Linked DNA regions of Homo sapiens: all the other regions are linked to region 2. Evidence: promoter capture Hi-C in 16 types of primary human blood cells and fetal thymus (Javierre and others, 2016). All regions are on one chromosome and are shown on one strand. The core of a region is centred on a gene start or on the middle of the fragment in contact, and the rest is flanking DNA. Distances in the headings are between cores, read along the strand shown.

The links. Contacts are between HindIII fragments. The CHiCAGO score rates a contact against its expected background, and 5 or more counts as called.
Region 1: a contact is called between a fragment that was not itself captured here and the fragment with the promoter of SEMA3D in region 2, in 1 of 17 cell types (megakaryocytes). The highest score is 9.8, in megakaryocytes.
Region 3: a fragment that was not itself captured here is called in contact with the fragment with the promoter of SEMA3D in region 2 in 5 of 17 cell types (megakaryocytes, M0 macrophages, M2 macrophages and 2 more); the score reaches 9.4 in megakaryocytes.
Region 4: a fragment that was not itself captured here is called in contact with the fragment with the promoter of SEMA3D in region 2 in 1 of 17 cell types (megakaryocytes); the score reaches 5.2 in megakaryocytes.
Region 5: a contact is called between a fragment that was not itself captured here and the fragment with the promoter of SEMA3D in region 2, in 2 of 17 cell types (megakaryocytes and erythroblasts). The highest score is 7.9, in megakaryocytes.
Region 6: a contact is called between a fragment that was not itself captured here and the fragment with the promoter of SEMA3D in region 2, in 1 of 17 cell types (megakaryocytes). The highest score is 5.8, in megakaryocytes.

Annotation. Positions count from the first base shown.
Region 1 is chr7:85,735,508-85,740,037 of GRCh38, forward strand. No RefSeq gene overlaps it. Among named protein-coding and RNA genes, the nearest start is that of LINC00972, 320 kb to the left of the region's middle. The HindIII fragment of the contact is 957 bases long and covers 1,709-2,665 here.
Region 2 is chr7:85,183,628-85,188,483 of GRCh38, forward strand. SEMA3D (semaphorin 3D) reads right to left here and starts at 3,429. Exons shown (of 19, transcript NM_001384900.1): 1 at 3,051-3,429. RefSeq lists a silencer at 3,241-3,300. The HindIII fragment of the contact is 2,551 bases long and covers 1,880-4,430 here.
Region 3 is chr7:85,758,742-85,763,211 of GRCh38, forward strand. No RefSeq gene overlaps it. Among named protein-coding and RNA genes, the nearest start is that of LINC00972, 340 kb to the left of the region's middle. The HindIII fragment of the contact is 3,351 bases long and covers 1-3,085 here.
Region 4 is chr7:85,779,140-85,784,099 of GRCh38, forward strand. No RefSeq gene overlaps it. Among named protein-coding and RNA genes, the nearest start is that of LINC00972, 360 kb to the left of the region's middle. The HindIII fragment of the contact is 4,828 bases long and covers 429-4,960 here.
Region 5 is chr7:85,836,779-85,841,195 of GRCh38, forward strand. No RefSeq gene overlaps it. Among named protein-coding and RNA genes, the nearest start is that of LINC00972, 420 kb to the left of the region's middle. The HindIII fragment of the contact is 1,474 bases long and covers 2,136-3,609 here.
Region 6 is chr7:85,854,776-85,859,238 of GRCh38, forward strand. No RefSeq gene overlaps it. Among named protein-coding and RNA genes, the nearest start is that of LINC00972, 440 kb to the left of the region's middle. The HindIII fragment of the contact is 8,193 bases long and covers 1-4,463 here.

The sequences.
Region 1 (4,530 bases), core at 937-3,436, 550 kb after region 2:
GTGCTAGACTCTATAGGAAAGTTCACTGGAAGAATCTACAACAAACACATATACAAAGGAAGTAACAAGCTCACAGGGATCGAACAGAAATCAAACCCTGAAAAACTTAGCAATCCATGGAAAGGATAGGTGAGAGTGCTCTTGACCTCTCTAGCTCTTGCAGTAGACTACTGATATATGAGCTCAAGGAGAGCTTCTTTGCTTTTGTGAGCAGAATTACAGTGGGCTATAATTTGGGGACTTTCTGAGGGCATTACCTTTGTTTACACAATGCTTTTTCCCTTTCCCTCTGAATCTAAGCTGTAATAGCATATACCATACTGAATGCACTCTCACTGAGGGACCTTGTTCTATTTAAGGACATTCAACCCTTGTACCTTAATAACATTGGATCCCTTGTAGATATTCCCCAGCACCACCTGGAATGTGGAAGCCCTACCAGGCACCTAGACTCAGAAGAGCAGCAGCATTCACAGTAGTCTGGCCCTCAGGGACCACCATTCCTAGGAGAAGTGGGAGTGCACCACATCAAGGGAGCACCCTGTGGCACAAAAGAAACCAGAGTACAGGACTTGAGTCCCAGAACTTTCTGCTTGTGGGAAGTTTCTTTCAGCAGAGTCACAAGTGTAGTGCTGGTCTCGGTGAGGAAGGACTGCAGTTCTACGCAGTAGTTGGGCAGCCCAAATACTCATGAAGAAATTTGGAGGAGACTTTATCTCCTCCTTACCACCACTGCGTACACAGCTGCGGTTTCTCCCACAGGAACTCGGCATGGGTCCGCCCATACGTAGCCTTTCCGGAGCACTTAGAGGTGACTGCATCCCCACAACATGAGTGCCCTCCAAGCTCAGGCTTGTATGAGGAGTACAGTAACAATCTCGCTCTACAAGGAACATCAGCATTCCTGAATCTGGAAAGAGGCACCTATCTGATATGAATAGCCAGAACAATGAGACAAGTGCATAATGTGGAGGCAGACAGCTTTCTTACTGTTCTGAAAGAGGAGAGGAGGTGGCTTTCTCCCTTCCCCTCAAAAAGACCTGAATGTATTTCAATGAGTGCTCCCCCAACCACCACTGTCAAGGCTGTGAACTTTTCCCACCATTGAGGTATTGAATATATCCACCTACTTCAGCCACAACAAAATTTTAGCCTTGGCCACCTCCTACTAAACCATGGACCGGTTTCCAGTTTAGTTTTCACCAGGTTGATGCCAAACTCGTTAACCCGGTGAAAACTAAACTAGAAAAAAATTTTAAAAGTGTACACCACTGGGAGATAAGATAAGCTTCATGATACCTCTGCCTTTCCAGCCCCACAAGAGACAGTGAGCCTGTTCACACACCAAGGACATTGTTAATACAACCAGCATCAGAGAAAGCCATCACAAAATGATTATCTATAACCAAGGAATTAATACAGAGTCTCTACCATGGAAAGCATTCAGAGCCAAAGCTAGGTCAACATAAACTGTACATTAAAGTCACATCTTCAAAGGAAAAAATATTTTTAAAGAAACCCAGTCAAATCAAAAATAAAGTTAAAAAAATAAGAAATAGTCTACTCAAATAAGAAGTAACCAGCAATATGAAAAATCAGCAATATGAAAAATCAGAACTTCTGGAAATGAAAGATACATTTTGGGGATTACAAAATATAGTGGAAAATTTTAACAGTACAGTAAACCAAGTAGAAGAAATAATTCCAAAGCTTGAAGACAAGGCTTTCAGATTAACCTGATCAGACTAAAATAAAGAGAAAAGAATTAAAAGAAGTGAACAAAGTGTACAAAAAATGTGAGACTATGTAAAATGTCCAAACCTAAGAATCATAGGTCTTCCTGAAGGAGAAGATAAAGCAAAATGTCTGCACAACCTATTTCAGAAAATAAGAAAAAGTTATTTGGTCTTGCTAGAAATTCAGACATGCAAATACAAGAAACTCAAAGAACTCCGAGGAAATTCATTGCACAAATGACATCACCAAAGCATATATCATCAGGTTATCTAAAGTCAATGTGAAGGAATGAATTATAAGAGCAGTGAGGAAAACCACCAGATAACTTACAAAAGAAGCTCAGTTGGAAGTAAATGCTCAGTGCCGCAAAATGAAACCTGCCCTCAGGCAAAAGTTCTTTTTCAGAAAGGCAATTTACTTCTGCAGAATGGTGCTGCCTGTGTCAATCATGATAACAAGAGCACACTGAACAAAGGAGGGAAGGGGTTTTTATTTCTGAGGTGTAGTTCCTACATCTGTGTTACTCCCCCATGGGCTGGTGTTAAACCGCACAGTCTAAGCTGACCCAATTGGCTATTTGCGAATATTTTACCCAAATAAGGAAGTGGGAAAGGGAAAGTGAGTTACAGTGGTTGGATGTGCAGTTTTGGTGGGAGGAATGGGTACAGAGTGAATAACCAAGGTAACAGATGTGAGTTATTGATTAGCACTGATGAGAAGGTTGTTTATAGTAACTAGGGGCAAGGAGGCACGGAGAACAAGAAAGTTAGGTTTGAGAACAAAGAACAAGGAATTAACAGGATGAACCTTTGAAGAGGAATTTTATTGTATCCTAGAATTCCCCCCTTCTAATTTTTATAGTTCTTCCTCTTCAAACCTTTTTAACATATCTTTGCTTTGTTGTTCAACTTGATCCTCTAAAAGGAAAAGCTTATCTGAATAAGGTGGAGGAGAACTAAGAGAAGTTTTAGTAAGTGCCATTTCTACAAGCCTTTGTACTAGCCCATGGGTGTATGGTATAATACAACACCCAACAAGAATGAGTACACCTATTATGACTTCAAGAGAAGTGAGAATTGAAGCCGCTATTCCTTTCCATTACCGAACCATTTTTCTAGTCATCCTGAAAAAGGGTAATCGACTCCAGAATTTCTAGCTAGTTCATTGGATAAAGTGGTAAGTCCTTGTGAAGGCTTTGTTATGTTTTCATCAGGGGCAGTATTGTTTGGGATGAAGGTACAACACTGAGTTTTAGTCATAACTCAAACTCCACATTTTCAGCTAACATCATTTCTAGGGCTACTGTGTTTTCCCAAGCCATTTGGCTAACAGGCCCTAATTGCTTGGCTATTACTTTGACAGCATCTCTAGTGTAATTAATAAATCACTGTTGGTTATAATAGATTTAATTTATCTGGTCTATATTTTTATTAATAGTTACCCATGGAAATACTGATTCAAATCCTACAGCTATTTGGTCTCAGGCTTTGAGTTTATTAGGTACTCCCTGTGGGACTTCAATTACATCCAAATAAACTTCAGAGTCAAAAGACCCATAGGGGCTTTTCTTATTTTACAGTGTTGTGATTTTTCTTTATCTGGCTAATGAAATATCAGGGTGAAAGGGATAGTCAATTGGACAAGAACGCAAGTGCCGCTCCAGTTACTTCACAGAGTATCCAGTAAGGGTCTACCATAATACCACCATACATCCACTTGAGGACGTCTAACGGTAGACTGATAGGTAAGCTCTTAGAAGGGCTTAAGCTCATTACATCTCATTAAGTTTTCAAGGAACGCCAAGTTCTCCCCTTGTCATGAGAGACATGAGGTGAAATTGACGTTGGGAGATGGAAGCTGGATGGCCCTCGGGGGCCGATCCGCAGGGTGTTGGACTTCGGGATATAGCAGAGAGAGAGCTTGGCATGATTTATTGTCCCAAGCCATAGAATCCTGTGGGAGAGCTTTCATGCAGCCCATGTGTGCTCTACTGGGAGACCATTCAAGTGGAAAGGGGACAATCTGGGCCTCTGGAGGCCGTGCACACAAGCATAACAATTGCTCTTGTTTAATGTGTGGATGGAATATTTGATTCATTCCAACCAGGAATTTATATGTTGATATACTGTTTCAATTGTTAAAGTTTACCTTAGATAATTTACTTCTACAATATTTGCTTTAGTATTATCATTGGATATAGAAGGGATGGCCGTCTGATTAGAAGAAAGCTCAGAAGGAGAAGAGAGGGAAGGGGGCAAACAGGATGAGGGATTAATAAAAACACATTTCAAAAGACCCTATGAGGTCTGTGCCAGGCAAGTTGGCTCCTATGCCATAGAAGTGACTCAAAGTAGGGCTAGGGTCGGTAGACGTGGTAATGAGAATAGAAATTTGCACTGGATTCTTTCTTTAGTAAAGTGAATGCATGGTTTTAAGGATATACAACCACCTGTAGATGAGGTCCAGCCTTGATACTCGGTTGTCCACAGAACATCATTCCAGCTATGACAGATCTGTTTTCCTGCATTTGTTAAGGCGCAAGAGTCTTGGTAGGTGGAGTCTGTTATTTTAAAGGGGCAGAGATACTTTTCTGAGGCTGAGAGTTACCTCTGACTTTGGAGATCTCTATAGGTTATGACTAAACAAGCATCAAACATAATAACTGGGGGTGAGTTTGATTTAGTTACATTGATAACAAGGTGGTCAGCAATAGAAAGGGCAAAGAAGAAAGAGTAATAAAATAGATGGAAGAGTGTTAAACTTTTTTTAGCTTTAGTTTGAGGGAGTATTCCC
Region 2 (4,856 bases), core at 2,179-4,678:
AGCAAATCATTAGTAAAGACTTACCTATGAAGGCAATTCTGGTGAAAGGCAAAAGAAAGCCACAGCAATTACTTTTCTATCTTTTATCGTTAGTTTCTGCTAGTGTTGATGATAGTTTCCCGATAATTCCAAAACATTTTACATTGCCAGATACTTTTTCTTAACCTCCCATCTCAGAACATCAACAGGAAAGTAACCAGAGTGAACTACAAAAGTGAACCAATGGTACTGAAATACGAAGTAAATTTTTAGGTATTCAGGTCATGAGGACAATAAGTAGACTGAGGAAAACCTAACTAATCTCAGGAAATGTTCTTAATACAACCATGGGATTTCTGTTTGATAAATTCTTTTTCTTTTTTTTTTCCTTTACGGACATTGTTAAAGAAACTAATAATTCCTACAAAGGAAAATGAAACCTGTAGGTATGAATAGATCATTAATATCACATACATACGATTCTGGGCTTATCGATTTGATGTGGTTCATTCTCATTCTCAACCATGAATTGCATTTAAAATTTTGAGTGTTCTCCACATGTAAATGATAACAGATACAGATACAGCATCATAACTGACCTTAGAAAGCCCTCCCATTAAGTGGGGTCATGACAACTTTCTTGAAGTTTCTGAAAGGAGACCCACACCCAGGTAAAACAGTTCGTATCTCAGTTCGTGCCCTTACTAGCTTATATTTGGGCACATCAAGCAACATTTTTGCATCTCATTTATTATCATCTCTAAAATAATAACTACCTAGCTTATTCCCCCAGCAATACAATTTTTTTTTAAGAATTACGGTTCTTCATTAAGAACATAAAAGCCAAAATGGGACAATACCCATTTATAAATCTTTATGTCTTTGTTTTTTTTTTCTTTTCTGTTCAAAAAGAAAAGAATAAGAGAATAATGACACTTGTATCATATTGTTGAGGATATTAATTGTGATAAAGTTCACAGCACCTGAAACACAATAGGTGTTTGATAAATGTTTCTTCCCTTCTCTAGGAACTTTCCATTTCACAATTGGGCAAATTCCATTGGAAATTTTGGCAATTCGAATCAGTACTGTTTTACTGTCTGTCAGCCCTTGACCCTACTCTTATCTCGTCCCACATCACCTTCCTGTATTTCCTGGCCTTTCCCTTCCAAGAGCCAAGGTCATTGCCCATCTCCCTGACCAGGGCCATCACTTTGCGCCTGTCAGCGATGGCACCCCTGACCCGTCTTATCCGCTGGGGCGAGTCTCAGAGACTCTAAGACCCGACTGGGTTAAAGCAGTGGCCAGCTGGGGCTGATCACTCCCAACCCCGATCTTCTTGCTCATCCTCCTTGCTGTCTGGCCTCGGAGAAGGAAAAGGAGAAGGGAGGGCATCATTGGAGTGATGACATGTGTGTCTTCTTGCTCATCCTCCTTGCTATCTGGCCTCAGAGAAGAAGGAAAAGGAGAAGGAAAAGGAGAAGGAAAAGGAGAACAAAAAGGAGAAGGCAAGGCATCACTGGAGTGATGACATGTGGCTCTCTCCCTTCTCTGCCCTTCACATTTTTCTTTCCACGTGCAGAACTGGGAAGGCTCTGACCACCCCTGCCCCCGCGGTTGCCATGGTTACACAATAGCAGCAGCACCAGACCCAGGAGATGTCTCAGACCTCTCCTCTACCTCCGCCTCAACCCTTCCCTCTCTGTTAGGAGATCCTCCCCCTCGTCTCTGCGCGCCCCCACCCCGCCATCCCCCGCTAGCGCACACATGCAGGAGAACCCTTTTTAGGCTAAACCGGAAAGTTTAGGTCTTCTCCCCTCTTCTTTTGCTTGTGCAAATAGCACTAAGCTAAACGGAAAGTGGTGGGGTTTTGGTGATGAAATAAGAGTCCACGCACAGAAGCTTGCCTTTTATTACCGCTTCGCTCGAGGCGAAATCGCTGAAAGTTCGGCTATTTAACTCCTGTCCCCATAACTCGGAATCCCGGACACCAGCGGCCCCAGCTGCTGGCGCGCGGCTCTCTTCCAGTCCCCTGGATCCCAAAGCTCCCTGCCACAGCGCGGCGTCTCCTCCTCCTGTCAACTTCCCTCCTTGCACTGTGACGGAGGCAAAGCAACTCAGCCCAGGAGGTTGAACTCGAGTCATCAGAGAAGGAGAAACAGTGCCGAAAACGGCCCGTGCGCTACCAGGGTAGCCCATTAACGCATTAACTCCAGGCTCGTTGGGCAGAAGCCGGGAGGAAACACCCTGGGGACCGCACTCCTGGTTAAATGCCCAGCACGAGTCAAATCCGGCCTTTCCAAAGCGAGCCAAGCCCACTACTACAAAGAGATCCCCCGAGTGTTTTGCCTTAACCACATTTCAGACAGCCAGCTTTGTGGCTGCTGTTTGACTCCAACTTTCCCTCTAAATCTAAAAGGATGCACACTTCCATCAGACGGAACGTCGCGATTCCCCGGCGAAGAAAAAGGCGTCGCCCATTCCTCTTCCAAAACGCTACAACAAAAACCACCACGCTTCCCTTCCTTCTTCCTTGCCCCTTTCCCTTCTCCCAGACCAACAAGGAAAGGAGCGAGCGAGGGCGCAGATGCCCTTTGGTCAAGTACTCCCCGGATGTTCCCGACTAAAGCGTCTCCAAATGAACCTGCAGCCTGCGGAAGCCGGGGACACATTCATAGACGCTCTCTGCTGCCCAGACCAGGAGGGGTGGTGGGGGAACCAGGAAGCCAGGGAGAGAGCAAAGTTCCTGGACGCGTCTCAGGAGGAAAACTTTGTGCAGTGCTGCCAGGCGGAGGCTCGTCAGAAGGCTCCGCAGCTGCTGAGGCGGGGTGGGACTGCGCCCCAGGGGCCGCGCTGAAGCTGGCGCCGCGATTACTGCGCACCGATTTCGCCCACTCTCTGTCCGCTCCCGGGAGCCTTCTCTGTCTCAGGACGGTTCCTTATCTCCCAAACCATGCTCGTCCTCCACTTCGGACCCACAGCCACCCCCAAATCCCGGCTATCCCCGCTTAGCACCGCGGTCTCCAGCACACCCTCCCACTGGAGTAGCAGGTGACCCAAACCAGACTTACCTGCTGTGAACTCTTCTCTCCCTCTCTCTTTTCCTGGTGCCTTTTCAGGGAGAGGGGAACGGGATGCAGGCTGAGGTCCAGCGGCGCGGCAACCCGGGGCACCGGCGCGCGTTCCTCTGAGCCGCAGCCCTGGCTGAGCAAGCGGAGCCGCCGGCAGCCCTGGCAGAGCCGGGAAGCTGCGGCCGCAGGGGCCAGGCCGGGAGGCAGGGGGCGCTGCTGCCTCCCCCGAGAGCCGCGCTAGGACAGGCGGAGAGCAAGGCACCAGCTGGAGCTTTGGGGAGGAGAGGGTGGCGAGGAAAGGCACGCTCCAAACAGGAGGGCGGCTTTTAAGTTTGTGGTGTGACCGCAGCAGCTGTCCTGGGAGAGACTCAGTCTTTCTAAAAAGAGGATGCTGAAAACGCCGGGGATTACCTTTCCCCTTCCGATCTCCTCCCCCAGCCCTCGCCCCCTCCTTCCACTGCGCACGCCAGAACTCCCAAGCGTGCAGAAGTTCATCCCTGCTGCGCGGAGGCTGCCAGCAGCGTGGATTTAGAGGTAGCCCTGGCCAAGCGCTGACGGATGTTTATCAGGACAGGGCACCCTATGTGTAAAGCAACCTCTAACGTCTGATCTTCCTTCTGGGTGACTTGGGGACTTCTTTAGTTCCTTCTCTATACCATAAAACCTGTTAAGGGACCCCATGAGGAAGAAACAGGGAGAGTGACCACAAACACCGTCCTAAAAATGCTAATCCCACAAAACAGTACCTGCGTTCCACTATGTAAAACCTCAATCCACGGTTAATGGCCTTGACAAGGCAGGCATAGGGATGAGGAACAGGGATCAACCCTCCGTTAAGGGGCTGGCACCCGATTAAGACCAAACAGGGAGAGATAAAAACGAGTAGAATGTAATCCTTTCTTCCTCTTTCCCTTACGCCAGACCTACAAAGAGGTGTGCCTCATATCCTTGTCTTCGGGAGTTTTTTAGATTTTTGCACCCCTTATTCACACAGTAGGAACTTAGAAGTATATAATGACGAGAAGATCTAAGTTTTGATGAACCTGGATCCTATGCAATTGGAATAGAGGATCCTCTTTAAGCAAAAGTAATGCAGAAATATCTCACTTCTACAGATTCTGCAAAAATATATGACAATGAGAGTTCATGAGGCCACCGTCAGGGACATTAAAAAGGCCTGTGCATTTGGTGAGCCCTGTACGTTAGGCATTTTTAGCTGCATGGTAAATCCTTTGTGATGGGATATCCAGGTTTATAGTCACACACCTTGCCCTTAGTCCCAAACATAAATCTGACATGAGGTAGAGACATGGAAAGCAAGCAGCCACGGGATCCTGCATTTGTCAGCTTGATTTAAGAGCACAAGGTGTAGGGTCCCAAAGCTTCCTTAGCAAGTAACAAGAGATATCTTGATTTGGAGATGGTGAACAGACAAATGCAGTAATGGAATAACTGAAAGGGGTGGAAGACATTCTTCATTTGACCTTTTATCTGTGGCAGAGGGCTGAGGGCCACAGAAGCTAAAGGAGTCATTTTAAGTTATAAATGGTTGATGGCAGAGTCAGGCTAAGGAAAGGCTCAGGTTTCTCAAATCTGACCAAGGCTCTTTCTTGTGTCTCATGCTGCCCCATCTCTATAACCTTGGTTTGGACTCACAACCAATCAACCCCATAAATACCCTCTTTGGATAGAGAAAAAAATTTTAAATCCTCGTAGACTATTTCAAACTATAGCAACTTTTATTTTTTTTCTGAATGCTTTATATTTAATGTTATACCACTCATTCTGTACATAGTCATGCAATTG
Region 3 (4,470 bases), core at 160-2,659, 570 kb after region 2:
AAGGGACTTCAATGAATTAACAAGCAAAAGACAAACAATTCCATTAAAAAGTGGGCAAAGGACATAAACAGATACCTCTCTAAACAAGATATACACATGGCTGTAATGCATATGAAAAAATGCTCAACATCACTAGTCATTTAAGAAATGCAACTCAAAGCCACCATGCTTATTACCTGGGTAACAAAATAATCTGTTCATCAAACCCCAACAACACATAATTTATCTATATAACAAACCTTCACATGTACCCCTAAAACTAATCTAGAAGTTTTAAAAATAATTTAAAAATAAATAAAATGCAAAAAAAATCATAAATGATGTAAGTGGGAAAACATCCCATTCTCATGGATTGGAAGAAACAAGACTGTGAAAATGACCACACTGATCAAAGCAATCTGCAGACTCAATGCTATTCCTATCAGAATACAAATGTCGTTTTTCACAAAATTAGAAAAACAATCCTAAAATTCACACGTAACCAAAAAGGTATCCAAATAGCCAAAGCAGTTCTAAGCACAAAGAATAAATCAGGAGGCATCACATTGCCTGACTTCAAACTATACTACAAGGCTATATTATCCACAACAGCATGGTACTAGTATAAAAGTAGACACTCCAATGGAATAGAATAGAGATTCCACAAATAAAGCCAAATACTTACAACTAACTGATCTTTGCCCAAGCAGACAAAAACATACACTGGTGAAAGGACACCCTATTCAATTAAAAGGGCTAGGAAAATTGGATAGCTACATGAAAAAGAATAAAACTGGATCACTATCACTCACCATATACAAAAATTAACTCAAGATTGACTAAAGACTTAAATATAAGACTTAAAACCATAAAAATTCAAGCAGAAACCCTAGGAAAACTGTTCTGGACATTAACCTAGGAAATTATTTACAAATAAGACTGAAAAAGCAAATGCAACAAAAACAGAAACAAATAATTAGGACCTAATTAAACTAAAGGCTTCTTCAGAGTAAACAGACAACTTACAGAATGAGAGAAAATATTTGCATACTATACATTCAACAAAGAATGAACGTTCTGAATCTATAGAACCTATAGAAAGGGCCTGGAGAAACTACAGAACCTATAGGTTATAGGTTCTGTAAACCTATAGGTTAACCAGAATCTGTAGGTTATCAAGAATCTACAAGGAACTCAAACAAATCCTCAAGAAAAAAACAAATAATCCCATTTAAAAAATGGATGAGCAACATGAACAGACATTTCTCAAAAGAAAATATACAAAAGGCCAGCAAACATATGAAAAAATACTAAAAACCACTAATCATCAGGGAAATGCAAATTAAAGCCACAGTGATATACCACCTTACACCAGCCAGAATGGCAATTATTAAAAAGTTAAAAAAAAAAAAAGGTGTTGGCACAGATGTGGTAAAAAAGAAACGCTTCTTCACTGCTGGTGGGAATTTAAGTTAGTACAAACTCTATGGAAAACAGTATGGAGATTTCTCAAAAAACTGAAAGTAGATCTACCCATCGATCCAGCAATCCCACTATTGGGATTTCCTACTACTGTAGGAATTTCCTATGGATATCCATAGGAAAATAAGTCATTATATCAAAAACATATCTGCATTTGTATGTTTATTGCAGCACAATGCACAGTTGCAAAGATATGAAATCAACCTAAGCGCTCATCACCTGATGAGTGGATAACTAAAATGTGATATATATTTACCAAGGAATACTACTCAGCCATAGAAAAATAAAATACTGTATTTTGCAGCAACTTTGATGGAACTGGATGCCATTATCTTAAGTGAAGTAACTCAGGAACAGAAAACCACATGCAGCATACTCTCATATATAAGAGAGATCTGTGTGTATGCAAAGGTATACAGAGTGGTATAATGGACATTGGGGCCTCAGAAGTGGTGAGGGTGGGAGGTGGGTGAGGGATACAACATTGTCTATGGGTACAATGTACATTATTTGGGTGACAGGTGACATATATTGTTAAGTATATGTAACAATATACATGTATTGTTTCATCTGTATCCATATGTAATAATATAATTCCATGTAACAATGGAATTTTTACATATAGATATATAATTTCATTACTAAATTTTATACTCTACATTGTAAAGTAAAATTGCACTAAAATACTTAGGAAGAAGGAATTGCACAACTTTTATAAAGTCTAACAACTGATATAATAATTTTGAAAGTTAAAAATTACACATAAACAGAAGAAAAATAAAGTATTTAAATCCATGGTTAAAAAATATTTACAATGCCCTTTCAAGGATTCACCTTCTAAACATTTATTCTGTAGAGGCAGTTCCCACAAACCACTATGATGTAAGTCAAACTCCTGGTTTATTTAATAACTATGAGGCAGAAAAGAGGTAACCATCTGAGCAAGGTTTATTTTTGTCTAACTAATGGCTATATCATGATGAAAAAGTTGTATATGCTAAGTAATTTTCACTTGCTATATGTATTGCTTATACAGTATTATTAATCCCCTAATGAAGAAATATATAATAATATGACATAAAATTATATCAATCATATTGAACAAACTTAGTTTTTACACGATTTGCTATGTTTAACCAAAAATACCATCCATCCAAATGACTGTGAAGTTTCAAAGAGAAAAAGGACAAGAGTTGTGTTGATACAGTATTTAATTGGAGGCCTGTTTGGGGCTTATAGTGTTTACTTCTTAATCAGCAATTGGACTTGAAATTGTGGACTTGAATAAGAAATACTGGAACACAGCGACCTTAGTTGAAACCCTTTATTGGGTTGATGGTAGAAATGGGAATAAATCCTGTAGCCATATGAAAGACATGTAAGCCACAGAGGCAAAATATTGCCAGAAAATTCTAAAAGCAAATAAATCAGATTGTGTGCACGTAAGTAGAATTTCATAAGAGCAAAATTCATTTCTGTGGTTAGCCTGATTAGATTGAATGGCTCTAATAAGTATATTCCAGAATTACAACTGAAATCAAACTTTCTATACATATATACTTTTATCTGAGGGGTTTTATCCTCAAATCTTGAAAATAATACAATATTACAAACCTAGGCATAAAGCTTTTTCTTTAAAATTATAAAAAATGAGATTATTTCTTTTTAAATAATCTTTGCATTTCCGGTAACTATAATGTTTGGTACTAAAATATAATTCCTCCCTACTAGTTATTGTTTTAAACACCACTGTGAGTCTATGTCATTTTGAAAAGAAAGAGGCAAAATTGATCAAGACTATCAAGAAGATATAAGTCTTGCAAAATAATCGAAGGCCTCTTCAAGGAAACATTGACTTGGGAGTTTAGGGAAACAAAGTTTGAAAACAGAGTGAGGGAAGAAATCAAAGGCAAAACACAACAAGTTTAAATGATGTTATTTTTCAATTAAGATTTCTTGGAGTAAGAAAAGGGAGACACACCGTTTTGCCATTTATCAATTTCATTTAAAAATTACTAGTAAATTGAACTTAGCTCATAAAATTCTATATTAGTAAGTCAGGAGTCAGTAGATAAGTGAGGAGAGGAGCTATTGTAGGTTTGTATTTTGAAAATAGTGAAATCAGTGCCTGAATGTAGACTCCCAGCTGAGTTTAAGGAAATATGACATTTATGGCCCTGTATTGTTTTTCTTAAAACTTGTGTAGTGACTAAAGTAATCATAAATAATGCAAAGGAGTATTAAAAACTGGAAATTGTAGCTTTATAAAGGAACACCAAAATTTAATAATATTTTAACTTTTTTTCAGTGATAAATCTATACATCTAACTGGGTAGAAATAGCACTGGACCAGGAGTCATAATGCAAATAATTCTTTCTAATTATCTTTCCATTAATTAACTCTATGATCTTAAGCCTGTTTTTCAGCTTATCTGTAACACATGTGTCTAATTTATAATAAAGAAAATTGGAATACATAATTCCAGACAGTCTTTGGAGAACTTGAACTTCTTTACCCTCCATAATGGGGAGCATTAAGATGGTGAAAACACAATGTGGAGGGAGGCCCAGCGTATGAGTGCAGTAACAGTAGGGTTAGAAAAGGGTAGATGCAGAACATGAAACTGAGATTTGAATTACAGAATAAAAATGAGGTATAGTATTATGAATGTGCGTTGAAGCTGCCAAGAACTCAGAATGATAGGTAACAAAGATGTAATCAGGAAGTGGAAACAGAGTCAGGAAAAATAAAAGTAGAGAAGTCTAAAAGCAGATATTAGAAATGCATGACTTTTTGTAAACTGATTTTTTAAATTTTATTTTTAGTTAGATACATAATAATTGCACATATTCATGGAGAGCAGAGCGTTATTTTGATGCATGTATATGACATGTAGCAATCAAACCAGTAAAATTATATCTATCACCTCAAATATTTTTCATTTATTTGTATTGGGAACATTCAAAATTCTCCCTCCTAATTATTTAAAAATATACAATAAATTATTT
Region 4 (4,960 bases), core at 1,593-4,092, 590 kb after region 2:
CATAAAACACATTTTGCACGAATCCACAATAGACTGTTAAAGTTCTTTCTGAAGTTTGTGGTGCTTTGGACCTCTTACTTTTTAATTTACAATCTTCCCATATGGTTTGGAATCTTTGTATAAGAATACATGATGTTTATAATGAAAATAACTGTGGTTTTTATGAATTTCAAAAATTGAGTTTTGTACACTAAATGTGCTTAATTACTCTATTGTTTTTAAAACTGAGTTGTATAAAAATTACATCTTGATAAAAAATAGAAAATTGCTTACACTAAGCTCATGATTTTTGATGGAGTAGAGTTTACAAAATTGGAAAAGTAGTAAATTAAGAATGAGAAATGAAGTTTTCTGGCTTCAATTCTTGTTTTAAATCCATGCTTCATTATTTACCACTTATGTGTCAACTATGTCAGTATGCTCCCAAAAGCTTGATTTTTTACCTTTTAAAATTTAGTAAGATAATTGTCCTCTATGTTGTAATTTTATATGATTAAATAGAGGAAAGCATGAAAAAGTGCTTTGTAATTTATTTTTGAAGTGGTTCTTATCTATTTTATTTAGGATATACTGAACTTCACTACCTTTATGCTACTGCAGTAAGAGACAAAATAAGGCTAAATTTTATTAATAATTACCTGAGTCAGCTGGCTCTAGCCTATGCCTTTCAGTGTAAGACTTAAAACTCTCTTCAAAATTATTTTCACTTACTTTGTAGATGTTTCCTGTGTCCCATGGACAAGTTTTCTCAAACCCTGTGGCCTCTGGTGCTTCTACTAATCAGCAAGAAATTCCCTAAACATAAAACCAAGAAAAGGATCTTTCTGTGTGCTAAGTCACCTCCAGTCTGCTGTTAAATGTTGCCCTTGGTTAAATGTTGCCCTAGTAGTGCCCAGTAGCTCACCAGGAATCCCTGGATGTGTCCAGCCACTCTTGATGGCATTGCTACTACCAGGTTCCCGGATGCTATCATGGTTGTTGCCTCATGAAAGGGAAATAATCGTTTTCAAGAAGACTCTTGGGTGACAATAGTTACATTAGATTTTGTTTTCTTTTTGTTTTGTTTTATTTTCTAACAAATTTTCTCCAAAGGCACTGAGACACAAATCACTGGAGATAAACTGGAGAAATATGTTTTGTCTTCACACTTTGGGCAAAGCTAGTCCTCTCTTCCAAAACTTCCAGAACTTTCATTATCAATAGTGTTTCTCGGTTCTCTCGAATTATGATATATCCTGGTAGACCATGTAGATTGTCATAAATAAGGTCCTATAAGAGGCTTATAAACATGTTGGACATATTGACTACTTGTGGCAAATAGCTCATTATAAAAAGGATTTGCACTTTTTTTGTTTGTTTTTTGTTTGTTTGTTTTTGAGACGGAGTCTCACCCTTGTCGCCCAGGCTGGAGTGCAGTGGCACGATCTTGGCTCACTGCAATGTCTGCCTCCCAGGTTCAAAATATTCTTATGCCTTATAGCTGGGATTACAGGCCACCACACCTGGCTAAATTTTGTATTTTTAGTAGCGACGGGGGTTTCATCATTGTTGGCCAGGCTGGGATTTGCACATTCTTAATGTCCACACCTTATCTACACATATACAAGTATAATATACTTCTATATAAAATATCTTTCTGCTTTTTCAAAGAATAAAAGAGAAAAAGAAACTTTGAGAGTATTTGAAAATGCATTCCTAAATTCCTACCAGGTTTTGTAACCCCACAAATTCTGTTTTCTCATAATAGCTGTTCTGTATACCTCTCACAAAGTTATCTGAAAGTTCAAATGAAATAACAAATGTGAAAAATGCTATTTGTTAACAATGGTGGAAAACATAAAGTAGATAAAAAACCCATAGCACCAAAATGCTGTATCTACAATTATGTCTCTACAATTCATGCTGACAGCACAAACCAAGATATGAAGATCACTGTTCACAAAGAATAGCTTTACACCTCTATTCAAAATATATTACATCATGGCAAAAGGCTAGAGACTTAGCATTAGGTCTTTAAACAACAGAAGGATCAAGAACAAAAATGTATTCCACGCCAATTATGAATGTATTGGGTAATATTAATTAATCCATGCATTGAACAAGATAGCTTTTGAGTACAATATGCCAAGGCATTATTTCATACACATGGTAATTAATCTTTCTGAACTCGAGATCCATCTTAAAAATATGAAGGGAAATGATTTAGTCTGGTTCAGAAGTGGGCTGTATTCTGAGTTCTAACTTCTCTAAGAAATAGGCATTTGGGAGAACATACTAAAAACAGAGCCATCTCTGTATAAAGAAAATACTTCCATTTAGAAGGTACTGAAAATAAGCATATGGTATTAACAGCATTTTGAAGATAATTTTTTTAAACTGAGAACTCTATTTTAGAGGTTTACATGATTTTTAATGAAATACCAAAACTCATGCATCCCACAAATCTCCAATTCCTGGAATTTTTTTCGTAATACAATTTGAGAAGATAATAAAACATTTGACTGCCTAATTTCCTGGGGAATATAAAGATATATTTGTTTTCCATAGATTTTCAATCAGAAAACCACTTACCACACCACCAAGATGAATCACACAGACTATTTCATTTGGCAGTTAGTTATATCTTCTTTAATTTTAAAAAATTGCTTGCCAAGGTTGGGTGTAAATTATGATAAACACTATGTCTGTCTACTCCTTCGGGGTTGTGTCATCGTTTTGGTTGAATTCTATTAGCTACACTTTGCACTCGGTAGTTGTTATGTCTGAAGACACACAAGTATGCTTTGGCTCCCCAGTATATATTTTCTTCAAAACTATCATGCAAATGATGAAAGAAATACTATTTTGAGATTCTATAGTTTACTATGTACCACATGGTCTGTTTCAAAAGATCACAGAAATCATTCTTGCAACAGATAATCTACAGAGGAAATGTGCAGGTTTTAGGTCAGTGCTTTCTGTCATTGTTTCACTCTGAGACTTAACTAGATTCAAGTGTTTAGTGAAATTTGCAAAAAGAAACAGGCTCATACTATTTGATGCCCATAGGGGAAAGAGCCTTGTCTAAAATTAGCTTTTTAAAACAGATGCATCCATAGACACAAATTAAAAGAATCATTTTAAAAAGAGTGATTGAATGGAAAATTCAGGCTCTGTTTGCCAAAGCTAAAAAGCACTGTTTAGTCATGAAAATAGCTTGAATTTCCATGTAAATTTATTATTTTCAAAATATTTCATAAACGCTATCTCATTTAATCCTTAACAATCACTTCCACATGTAACTAGGGTATGTGCAACAATAATATAAATAATAAAATGAGAACAATCAATATTCTTTCTATGTGCCAGTCTCCTTTCTGCACGCCTAAAAATAAATTTTATCATTAAATAAATTTAATAATTAATTTAATTACTCTTTGAGTTACTCTGTGAGTTAGGTACTATTTATATCACCATAAAAAAGTGAAGAAAAGGGAGATTAAATAACTTGTCCAAGAAAACAAAACTAGTAAGTGGAGGAGCCAGACATTCTACTAATGTCACCTCAATGATAGGCCAGCTAGGCTAGACTCGTTTAGTTATTTTGACAAGTATATATATATTTTTGGATATATTTTTAAGATTAAAGAAAGAAAAAGATACTTCAGAGACTTTCATCTACTGATTAAACTGAGAATAAATCAACAACATTTTAGTCTAATGTGCTTTCATCTCTAGTAATGATCACTCTTCAATTTTCTAATTTAGTTTTTTAATTGACAGATATAATTGTATATATTTACCATGTAGAACATATTCTTCTGGAGTAAGACACATTGTGGGGAATAAATAAATCTAGCCAGTTAACATATGTATTACCTCACAGTTATCTTTTTTGTGGAGAAAAAAAACCTTACATCCATTCTTTTAGGGTTTTTCAAGAATACAATATATTGTTTAATATAGTTACCAAGTTATACAATAGACCTCTTAAACCTCTTTCTCCTATCTGAAATTTTGAATCCTTTGAGCAAGATATACCAGCCTCCCTTCCCTAACCATTTCAGCCCCTGATAACAAACGTGAGATAAACTTTGTTAGGTTCTACATATGAATAAAATCATTTGATAGTTGTCTTTCTGTGCCTAATTTATTTCACTTAACATAGCATTCTTCAGGTCCGTTCATATTGTCCCATATTACAAAATTACCTTCTGTTTTAGGGCTGAATAGTGTATATATACCAGATTTTTTTTATCCATCCATTCATTTATTGATGGACATTTAGGTCGATTCCATATCATGGCAGTTGTGAGTAATGCTATAATAAACAAAGGAATGCAGATATCTCTTTGACATACTCATTTCATTTGCTTTGCACATGTATTCAGTAGTGGAATGGCTGGATCATGTGGAAGATTTATTGTTAATTTTTTAAGGAACCTCCATTCTGTTGCCATAATGGCTGCACCACATTATATTTCCACCAAAAGTGGAACAAAAAATGTTCTCTTCTTGCCACATCCTCATCAATACTCATTATATTTTGTATTTTTTATAATACCCATTATAATAAGCATGTATGTAGTGTTAATTTTCATTTCCCTGATGATTAGTAATACTGAGCATTTTTTCATTTCCTTGTTGACCATCTTCATGTCCTCTGTAGAGAAATGTCTATTCAGGACCTCTGTCAATCTTTTACTTGGGTTATTTGTTCTCTTGCTATTGAGTTACTTAAGTCCCTTATATATTTTGAATACTACCCCTTATCAGATGTGTAGTTTGCAATTTTTTTCTCTTCCCTATATTGATTTTTGTTTCTGTGCAGAAGAGTTTTAGTTTGATGTAACTTCATCTGTCTATGCATACTTTTCTTGCCTATGCCGATATTGTCATGTCCAAAAAATTATTGCCCGAGCTAATATCATGGAACTTCATCCATATGCTTTCTTCTAGAAGTTCTATAGCTTTGGGTCTT
Region 5 (4,417 bases), core at 1,623-4,122, 650 kb after region 2:
GTTCAGAAAACAAATTGGCTTCTTGGTATGTATAGCAGCTGGAGTTAAACTAAATTTTCTAACCTGATTATTGGATATTTATTTATGCTTCACATTATTTTGCATTCTCATTGATTTAATTATTAAAATCATATCACAGTAAAGGTAAAGATACTGTCTTGATTAAAAGAATATGTTAATATAACTGGAAGTTATCATTTTTATTATTTGGGGCGATTACAAATCTTGTCTTTCCCCAGCCCCCTTTCTAATCCCATATGTTCAGTTTTATTGAAGCTAATCAAATGCTTTCCAGACTTGTTCGGTTTCCTCATTTAGTTTGAGTTCCCTTTCTCCTCACATCAGGGTTCATATTTCTTCTCTCGATCTTTCTACTCTTTATCCTTTCCTTCTCCTCTTTTCACTCCTCCTCCTTTTGGTTCTTCTTCATTACCTATTTTGTGTCTTTTGGTTTCCATTTACTTTTGTTTCTTGCCTTTTCAAATAAAAGCCTGACAACAACAACTTGTTTAGTTTTAACCAGTGGACAAATAGAACACTGGATATAATGGAGGCCTTTACTCCTCTCTTCTGTTTTATTTACTTTCTTCTCTTTAAAGAAGGACTCTTTGTGGCCTTTGTTCCTCCTACACTTTCCTCTTTCATTTATACATTTGGAGCTTTTCAGTTACGGGAAGCATATAGACTTCTAGATAGTTGATTTAGCCACATTTTATTGTAATACCTTCCAGGTAACTAAGATGATATATGGAAACATAGAAAGGCATTTTTATATTTTAAACTAATTTTAATATTTCTTATAGTTAAATATACTTTATTTTACTCTCAATATTCCTGAATTGACATATGGCTGCTTTTTATTTTGCATACATTTCTGATTACCATACCTTTGTTTTACTTCTTGCTTTTTTTCATTTGGATGTGTAAGGAAACATAATCATTGCATATATACCATATCGGGAAACGACTTAGCAAATTAATTTTCATTTTATTGCTTTTTCTCATCAGCAACATTAACAGAAGAAAAACTAATTTATAGACATAAGTGTATTTTCATATTTTGATGGAATAACTACAAATACATTCAAGCAAAATAAAAAGTCAATTTTTAAAAGGGGGTTCAGTGAGATGTTTTCCTGGGGTGGTTTCTCATTTCTAATTATTTATTGCCAACAATTGAAAATACCTAAGTCCATTTTGATTTAGGACTTTACATCTATCCTGTTCATTTACAAGAACTCTGTAGCTAAGATTACAAAAGATAAAATTCTAATGTTCATTTAAGCACGTAATAGCTTTTTAAATGGTTATATATTTGAAAAGACATTTGGATCCCATTAAAAATGAAATTGAAGCTATGAAAATTGAAAGAAAGAAAAAACTAATCCATTGGATAAGTGTTTTCTTAAGTGCTTTTAACTCCACCCAATTCAGATAATACTGTGTGTCCAAGGTTTCCTTTAAAAGATTTGAATTATAAAAAACAGAACTTAAGTTTAATATCTCTTTCATAATTTTATTTTTCCCACTTCATGTCTTTGGTTATATTTAGCTTTTACTAATTAAAAAAATCCATATTTTTTTTAAATGAAACAACAATAACCCAGTGGCAGAATTGAAGAATGGTCACTTTTCCGGGCTCTGACTGTAAATAGATTTTCCAAATAACCCCAAATACCTCATTAGTGACAAATACCACATTTTTTACCTGAGAATATCACGGGTAAACTACTCAATTTCCCTACCCCTCATGGAACACCAAACAAAAGTGTGATTTAATTTACCATTATATGAAATGCAAAACTTATCCTCTGAATTTTAAGTATATGTAATTTATTACTAATCTAGTTGTTAATGTTTCAAGGCTACTAATGAATTGTGATTATATATATGTATATATATATGTATATATCACATTTTTTATTGGAGTAACTAATATGGTCACAGAGAGAAATATTTTTCCCTCATTTGTCTTTTTCAATTTTCAAAGAATAACTGAATCTATGAGCTGGAGGGAGTGTTTGTTAGAAAGAGCTAACTCAGCTTTGTCACTAGTGTGGCTGCTTTTGTTATAGTAACTCTTCCATCCATGGCCTGAACTGTTCCTGTGATATCAAACATACATTTCCCAGAAAAGCTTATTTCCATATTAGAATCTGCTATTTTCATAAAATTATTTCTATATTAAGCTGAAATATATTTAAAATATTAGCTCCATTATTCCTAGGTTGTTTATTTGGAGTTTTATTTGGATATAATAAGTTGAATCCCTCATTATATTTGTTGAAGATAAATATCTGTCCTCATTAAGTCCTCTAATATTTACATATAACATTGCCAACTTCTTCAAGTTTATGTAACAGTGAATAGAATTTTTATCATTTAGAATCTTTAACTGATTATTATATTGCAAATATTCATTTAAGTACAAGATAAAAGATACTGCTGTTTCCATAGTTTTGTACAGCATGAAATTTAAAATCTCATTTCTCCTGACTGTATATATTTACCATAATGCATCAAACTGTATATTTAAAATAAATAAATGTTATCATATGTATATCATGCATCAGTAAATTTTATAAATACACACACACACGTGTACATGAATCTCTCTCTCTCTGTCTATAGTGATAGCTCCTGTTCCATTCCACCTTTTCCATTATTATTATTTTCTTTCATTGTTTTCATAAGCTATCTAGAAAATAGGCTAAAATAAAACTGAATTTCTCATCCACTTGATGAATATAGTGATGTTCAAGGCAGAAAAAAAGGATTAGAATAATAAAATAGTAAAGGTTGAAATATACAGATAATCTGAAATGCAGGAAAATACTTATTTTCAAGTGTTCATAGACTAGCTACAAATATTAAACATGATTTAGCATAAGAATAAAATATCTATAAATTTAAAAGGAAACACAATAATAATAAAGTTTACTTTTTAATTAAAAGAAAAGCCTAACATTTTAAAATAAATAAGCATGTTTTGAAACTCTCCTAGTTTACCGCTGGGTAAAAAAGGAATAAAAACTAGAATTCCTGATTATTTTAGAATTGTACGCATCAAAAACTACAAGGTATAGATAAAGCTCATACCAGAAGAAATTTTTTGCCTTAGTTCATCATTAATTTAAAAATAATAAAATAAACTAAGTGTTAATAAAATAATATGAAAATTAAAAACAAGAAAGCAGGCTTATTGAATGACAAAACAAGCAAAAAATAATAAATTACAAAACATGAAAAGAATAAACTTAGAGAACAAATCTTAGATTTGTTTTATTTTGTGTGTGAGTATAATACCATAACATAGAATTAATGTTTTAGAGTAATTACTACATGCCAAATGAGGAGTACTATGCCAAATAGTATGCATATCTGTCACTTACAACAATATAATAATTTCTGTCCTTTGCTTATATGTACTTTTTAAAAAATTTTAGTACGTATGTATGTTTTTTATGTGGGTTTATTGCATAATGGTATGGATTAGGCTTCTAGTGTACCCATCACCCAAATGTTGAACATTGTATCAGATAGGTAATTTTTATTCTCTGCAACTCAACATAAATTATTTCATTCATCACTAATCTTCCTGTTTCAGAAAGCTTAATCTTGTGTTTTCAGTAAAATTATAGTCAAATTCAGGGATCTTTAGAGATACCTAAATAAGGTAAGCTTGCTAAAGTATAAGCTTCAAGAGGTTCAGGGTCTTTATTTTGTGCCAGTACATGTCAGAGAGTAGATACTGAATACATAATTGTTGGAAAAAACTTAACATTGAAAATTCAGAAGAATTCAAGATTGAGTCTCCATTTCTCTCCTTACTGCCAGAAATGTGTTGTCCGTGTCTCAGTGTTTGTGTCTCAGTTTAATACAGCCGTATTATGCAACATAATTTACCTCATCTATTTCTCCAGTTCTCGCACGACACATTCATGATTTGAAATGTAAACACATTACTGCCTTATCCTGGCAGGATGTTCCACCCTGTATCTATGCTACGGATTTGCTTTATGTCAACTCCAAAACCCCTTACACACTCATTGGCCTCTTTCTCTTTCAACTAATTTACATGCTGTCCGTGAAGCAGAGATAAAATATTCAGTCCCCTCAAAGTGTGCTGAACACACAGCTTTTTTCAGACTTATCTCCTGGTTAAGGCAGCATAGTAGTGAAGACCACAGACTCATAACCAGATTCAACTGCTTACCGTATGTTTGGGCCAAGATATGTGACTCCTCTAGATCTGCTTCCTCAACTGTAAAATGAGGACAATAATAGGACTTACATCAAAATGCTACTGAAGATTAAAAAAGTTAATATATGTGAAGTGTTTGTGGCATAAAAATATTATATGAAAGTGTTCATTTTTCTTTTTCTGTTACCTCCTCCAGCGCCTCATATAGTCAGT
Region 6 (4,463 bases), core at 1,365-3,864, 670 kb after region 2:
GGAGTCATATCCCAAAAAATATGACCTCGGCCAATATCATGGAGCTTTTTGCTGGTTTTCTTCTAGTTATTTTACAGTTTCAGGTCTGACATTTAAATCTAAACCATTTTGAGTTGATTGGTGTCTAGGGTGTTATTATTCTACATGAAGATATTCAGTTTTCCCACCATTTATTATTAAGGATATTTCCATCTCCCCATTGTTGAAAAGTGTCTCTTGACACCTTGTTAAAAATCAATTGGCTATAAATGCATGGAATTATTTCTGGACTCTATTCTGTCTCATTGTTTTATGTGTCTGGTTTTTTTGCCAGTATATGCTGTTTTGGTTACTGTGTCTTTGTGATATAAAGTAAAGTAGTGTAATGCCTTCAACTTTGTTCTTTTTGCTCAAGATTATTTTGGCTATTCGAGGTCTTTTGGGGCTTCAAATGAATTTTAGAATAGTTTTTTTCAATTTTTTCAACAAAATTCTCTTGGGATTTTGACAGGGACTTTATTGCATCTACAGATAATTTTGGGTAATATGGATAATTTTAAAATATTAATTATTTTATTGCATGAACATCTGATGTCTTCCCATATATTTGTAATTTCTTTGATTTCACTCATGAAAATTTTAGTTTCCAGTGTACCAATCCCTTACCTCTTTGGTTAAATTTATTCCTAAGTATTTTATCTTTTTTGATACTATTGTAAATGAATTTTTTCTCTTGATTTTCTTTGGATTGTTTATTGCTAGTTTAGAAATTCAACTAAATTTTGTATGCTGGTATTATTTCCTGGTCCTTATTGAATTTATTATTTCTAACAATTTTTATGGCATCTTTAATGTTTTCTACCTATAAGATCATGTCATCTGCAAACAGATAATTTAACTTCATCCCTACTGATTTGGATACTTTTTTTTTTTTTTTTTACCCTTTTCTAATTGCTCTGGCCATTACTTCTGGTGTTATGCTGATTAAAAGCGGGCATCCTTTCCTTCTTCCTAATCTTAGAGGAAAAAATTGCAGTTTTTCACCATTGAGTATAATATTACCTGCAGGTTTTTCATATGTGGCCTTTTTATGTTGGGGTAAATTCCTTCTATACCTAATTTATTAAGAGCTTTTATTATGAAAAGATATTGAACCTTATCATATGACCTTTCTGCATCAATTGAGATGATAAACTGTTTTTTGTTCGTTTGTTCTGTTAATGTGGGATATTACATGAATTTATTTTTGTAAGTTGAACCAGTCTTGCATTCTATGGATAAATCCTACTTGGTCATAATATATGATGCTTTAAATGTGCTGATAAATTCAATTTGCTAGTATTTTGCTGAAGGTTTGTACAGTTTTGTAAGTATTTTCTTGAGGAAATTTGGCCTGTAGTTTTTTTTTTTTTTTTCTTGTAGTGTGTTTGGCTGGCTTAGATATAAGAGTAATACTGGCTCATAAATTAGTTTGGAAGTATGTTTCCTATTCTTCAATTTTTAAAAAGGCGTACAGAGGGATTCGTGTTAGTTCTTCTTTAATATGTGATAGAATCAACCAGTGAAGTCATTGAGTCCTGAGCTTTTTCTGTTATCACTGGGAGATTGATTCAGTCCTTCTCTTTATTATAGGTCTGTTCACAATTTCTGTTTCCATGATTCAGTCTAGCTAGGTTGTATATGTCTAGGGAATTTATTCATTTTTTAGGTTATTCAATTTTTTGGCTATCATGGCTCATGGTAGTCTCTTTTGGTGCTCTTTATTTCTGTAGCATCAGTCATAACATCTCCCTTTTCATTTATGATTTTATTACTTAAGTTTTTAATATTTTTATCATAGTTACTGTAGCTAAGGGCTTATCCATTTTAATATATATTTTCAAAAAACTCTTAGTTTTACAGATTTTTCTATTTTTTACTTATCTATTTCATTTATTTTGGCTGTAATCTTTATTTCTTCCCTGCTGTTAAACTTGGCCTTCATTGGTTCTTGTGATTTTAGTTCCTTGAGTTGTAAGGTTAAGTTGTTCACTTAACATCTTTCTTTATTCTTAATGTAGAATTTATAACCATAATTGTCCCTCAATACTGCTTTTGTTGCATCACATAGGATTGGTGTGTTGGGTTTTCATTTTTGCATATATCAAGCTATTTTCTAATTTCCCTTCTGATTTCTTCTTTGATCTATTGGTTGTTTAAGAGTGTGTTGTTTAATTGGTGCATATTTGTACATTTTCTAGTTTTTTTCTGCTATAGATTTCTAGTTTTATTCCATTGTGGTAGGACAAAGATACATGCTATGATTTCAATCTTTTTACATTTTTAAGACTTGCTTTGTATGCTAACATATGATCTATCCTAGAGAATGTTTCATGCACACATGAAAAGAACATGTATTCTGATATTCCTGGGTAGAATGTCTTACATATGTCTATTAGGTTCATTGTTTATAATTTTGTTCAAGTTCTCTGTTTCCTTATTGTACTTTTGTTGTATTTGTACTTGTATTTACGAAGTAACTAGTTTGCTATTGATTTTACAAGCTCATAAGCGGAAGGTATTTGCCTTGTCTCAGAGACTTTGTACTGTAGACTTTTGAATTAATGCTGAAATGAGTTAAAATTTTTAGGGGACTGTTGGGAAGGCTTGATTGGTTTTGAAATGTGAGGACATGTGATTTGGGAGGTCCAGGGGTGAAATTATATGGTTTGGCTGTGTCCCCACCCAAACCTCATCTTGAATTGTACTCCCATCATTCTTATGTGTTGTGGGAGGAATCTGGTGGGAGATAATTGAATCATGGGGGCAATGTCCCCATACTGTTCTTGTGGTAGTGAGTTAAGTCTCACCAGATCTGATGGTTTTATAAGGGGTTTCTGCTTTCTCTTCTTCTTCATTCTCTTCTCTTGTCTGCCACCATGTGAGACGTGATTTTTACCTTTCACCATGATTGTGAGGCCTCCTCAGCCAGGTGGAACTGTGGGTTATTGATTAAACTTCTTTCTTTTGTAAATTGCCTGGTCTCAGGTATGTCTTTATCAGCAGCTTGAAAATAGACTAATACAAAGGGAGAGATATAACTTGCCAATGTCTTTGAAAGAAATTGGGATTTTGAAGTAACCTCCCCAACTCACATTATTGATATGAAGAGATCTGATGTTTCTCTAATATTGAGTCTTCCCATATGTGTGTGTGTGCATGTGTACACAAAATAAAATAATCTCTGTCTTTTATTAGTCAGCCTTTTAAAAACTCTGTGATAACTATGTAAATTCCAAGCAGAACTTGAAATTGAGCTAATCATGAAAAAGAGAAAAACAGTATATATGTATGAGTGATATCTAGTACATTCACCTATAAAAACCTAAGTTTACTATCAATCACAGCAATATCCTTTACTTATGTGCTTAATGCTATAAGGTAAAATATAAATATAATGTATCTATATTTACTAATATCAAGGGCAATCTAAATAAAACTTTGGGAACAATCCTGAATCTTCTCTTCGATTGAAAACTAGAGTATTTTATGTGTTTACCAAATTGTAGTAAAATTTTGCTGAACAATTTTAGTAGAAAAAAAAAGCATTACTACTATTTCTGTGACTAGTGAAAATTTCTGAACCTGTTAGCCTTAGCAAGATTTGAAATAATTTCAGAGTATCAACAATTTATTATGTAACTATTTCCACCCAATTTCTTGTTATTCCTACAATATTATTAATTTAAAATTAAAATATATTAGAGATGGTGAGAACTTCAAAATACTGGGTAGGATGGTGTACAAGGTGATGAATCAATATTAAAAGTATTGAAGAAATAATTTGAGAGGAATCAGTTATATTTCCTTATTTCAACAATTTTCCCCATTGAATTTGCAGTCCTATAGCTAAATAGCAGCATGTATGCAGAAATTACGCCTTCTTGATTGTTACATAGTAAAAGAGCACGATATTAACATTATTATTTAATTACAAATACATTAATATGTATGGATTATTTTATTTACCTTTAATTTCTAATTTTTCCTTTTAGATTTTTTTCACTGAAGCACCAAAATGGATTTTAAACAAACAAAAACGACGTTACTTTTCCTCTTTATTGTGTAAATAAACACGTTAATAGAAAACCACTTCAACATAAATTTGGTACACAAAATGCCAAAATTTACACATGAATTATTATGTTTTCCATCATGCAACAGTGTATTTATGGAGAATACTGATATGTTAGCCTCAAAATAAATGATTAAAGATAGGAAATGAATAACAGAAGTGTCAGACATTACCCACTAATTTCAAAATTCACTAAATTTAAGAAAAAGGACTGCCAGAAACAATTGATTCAGAATGACAGAAAACAATGAGATATCATACATTAATGAGTTATTATAGGTTCTTAGAGAAGAGCAGTATTAAAAATACAGATAAAAATTGCTTTTTATTACCCCTCGTCAAAAAAAGAAAACCAAAAAGCAAAAAATTA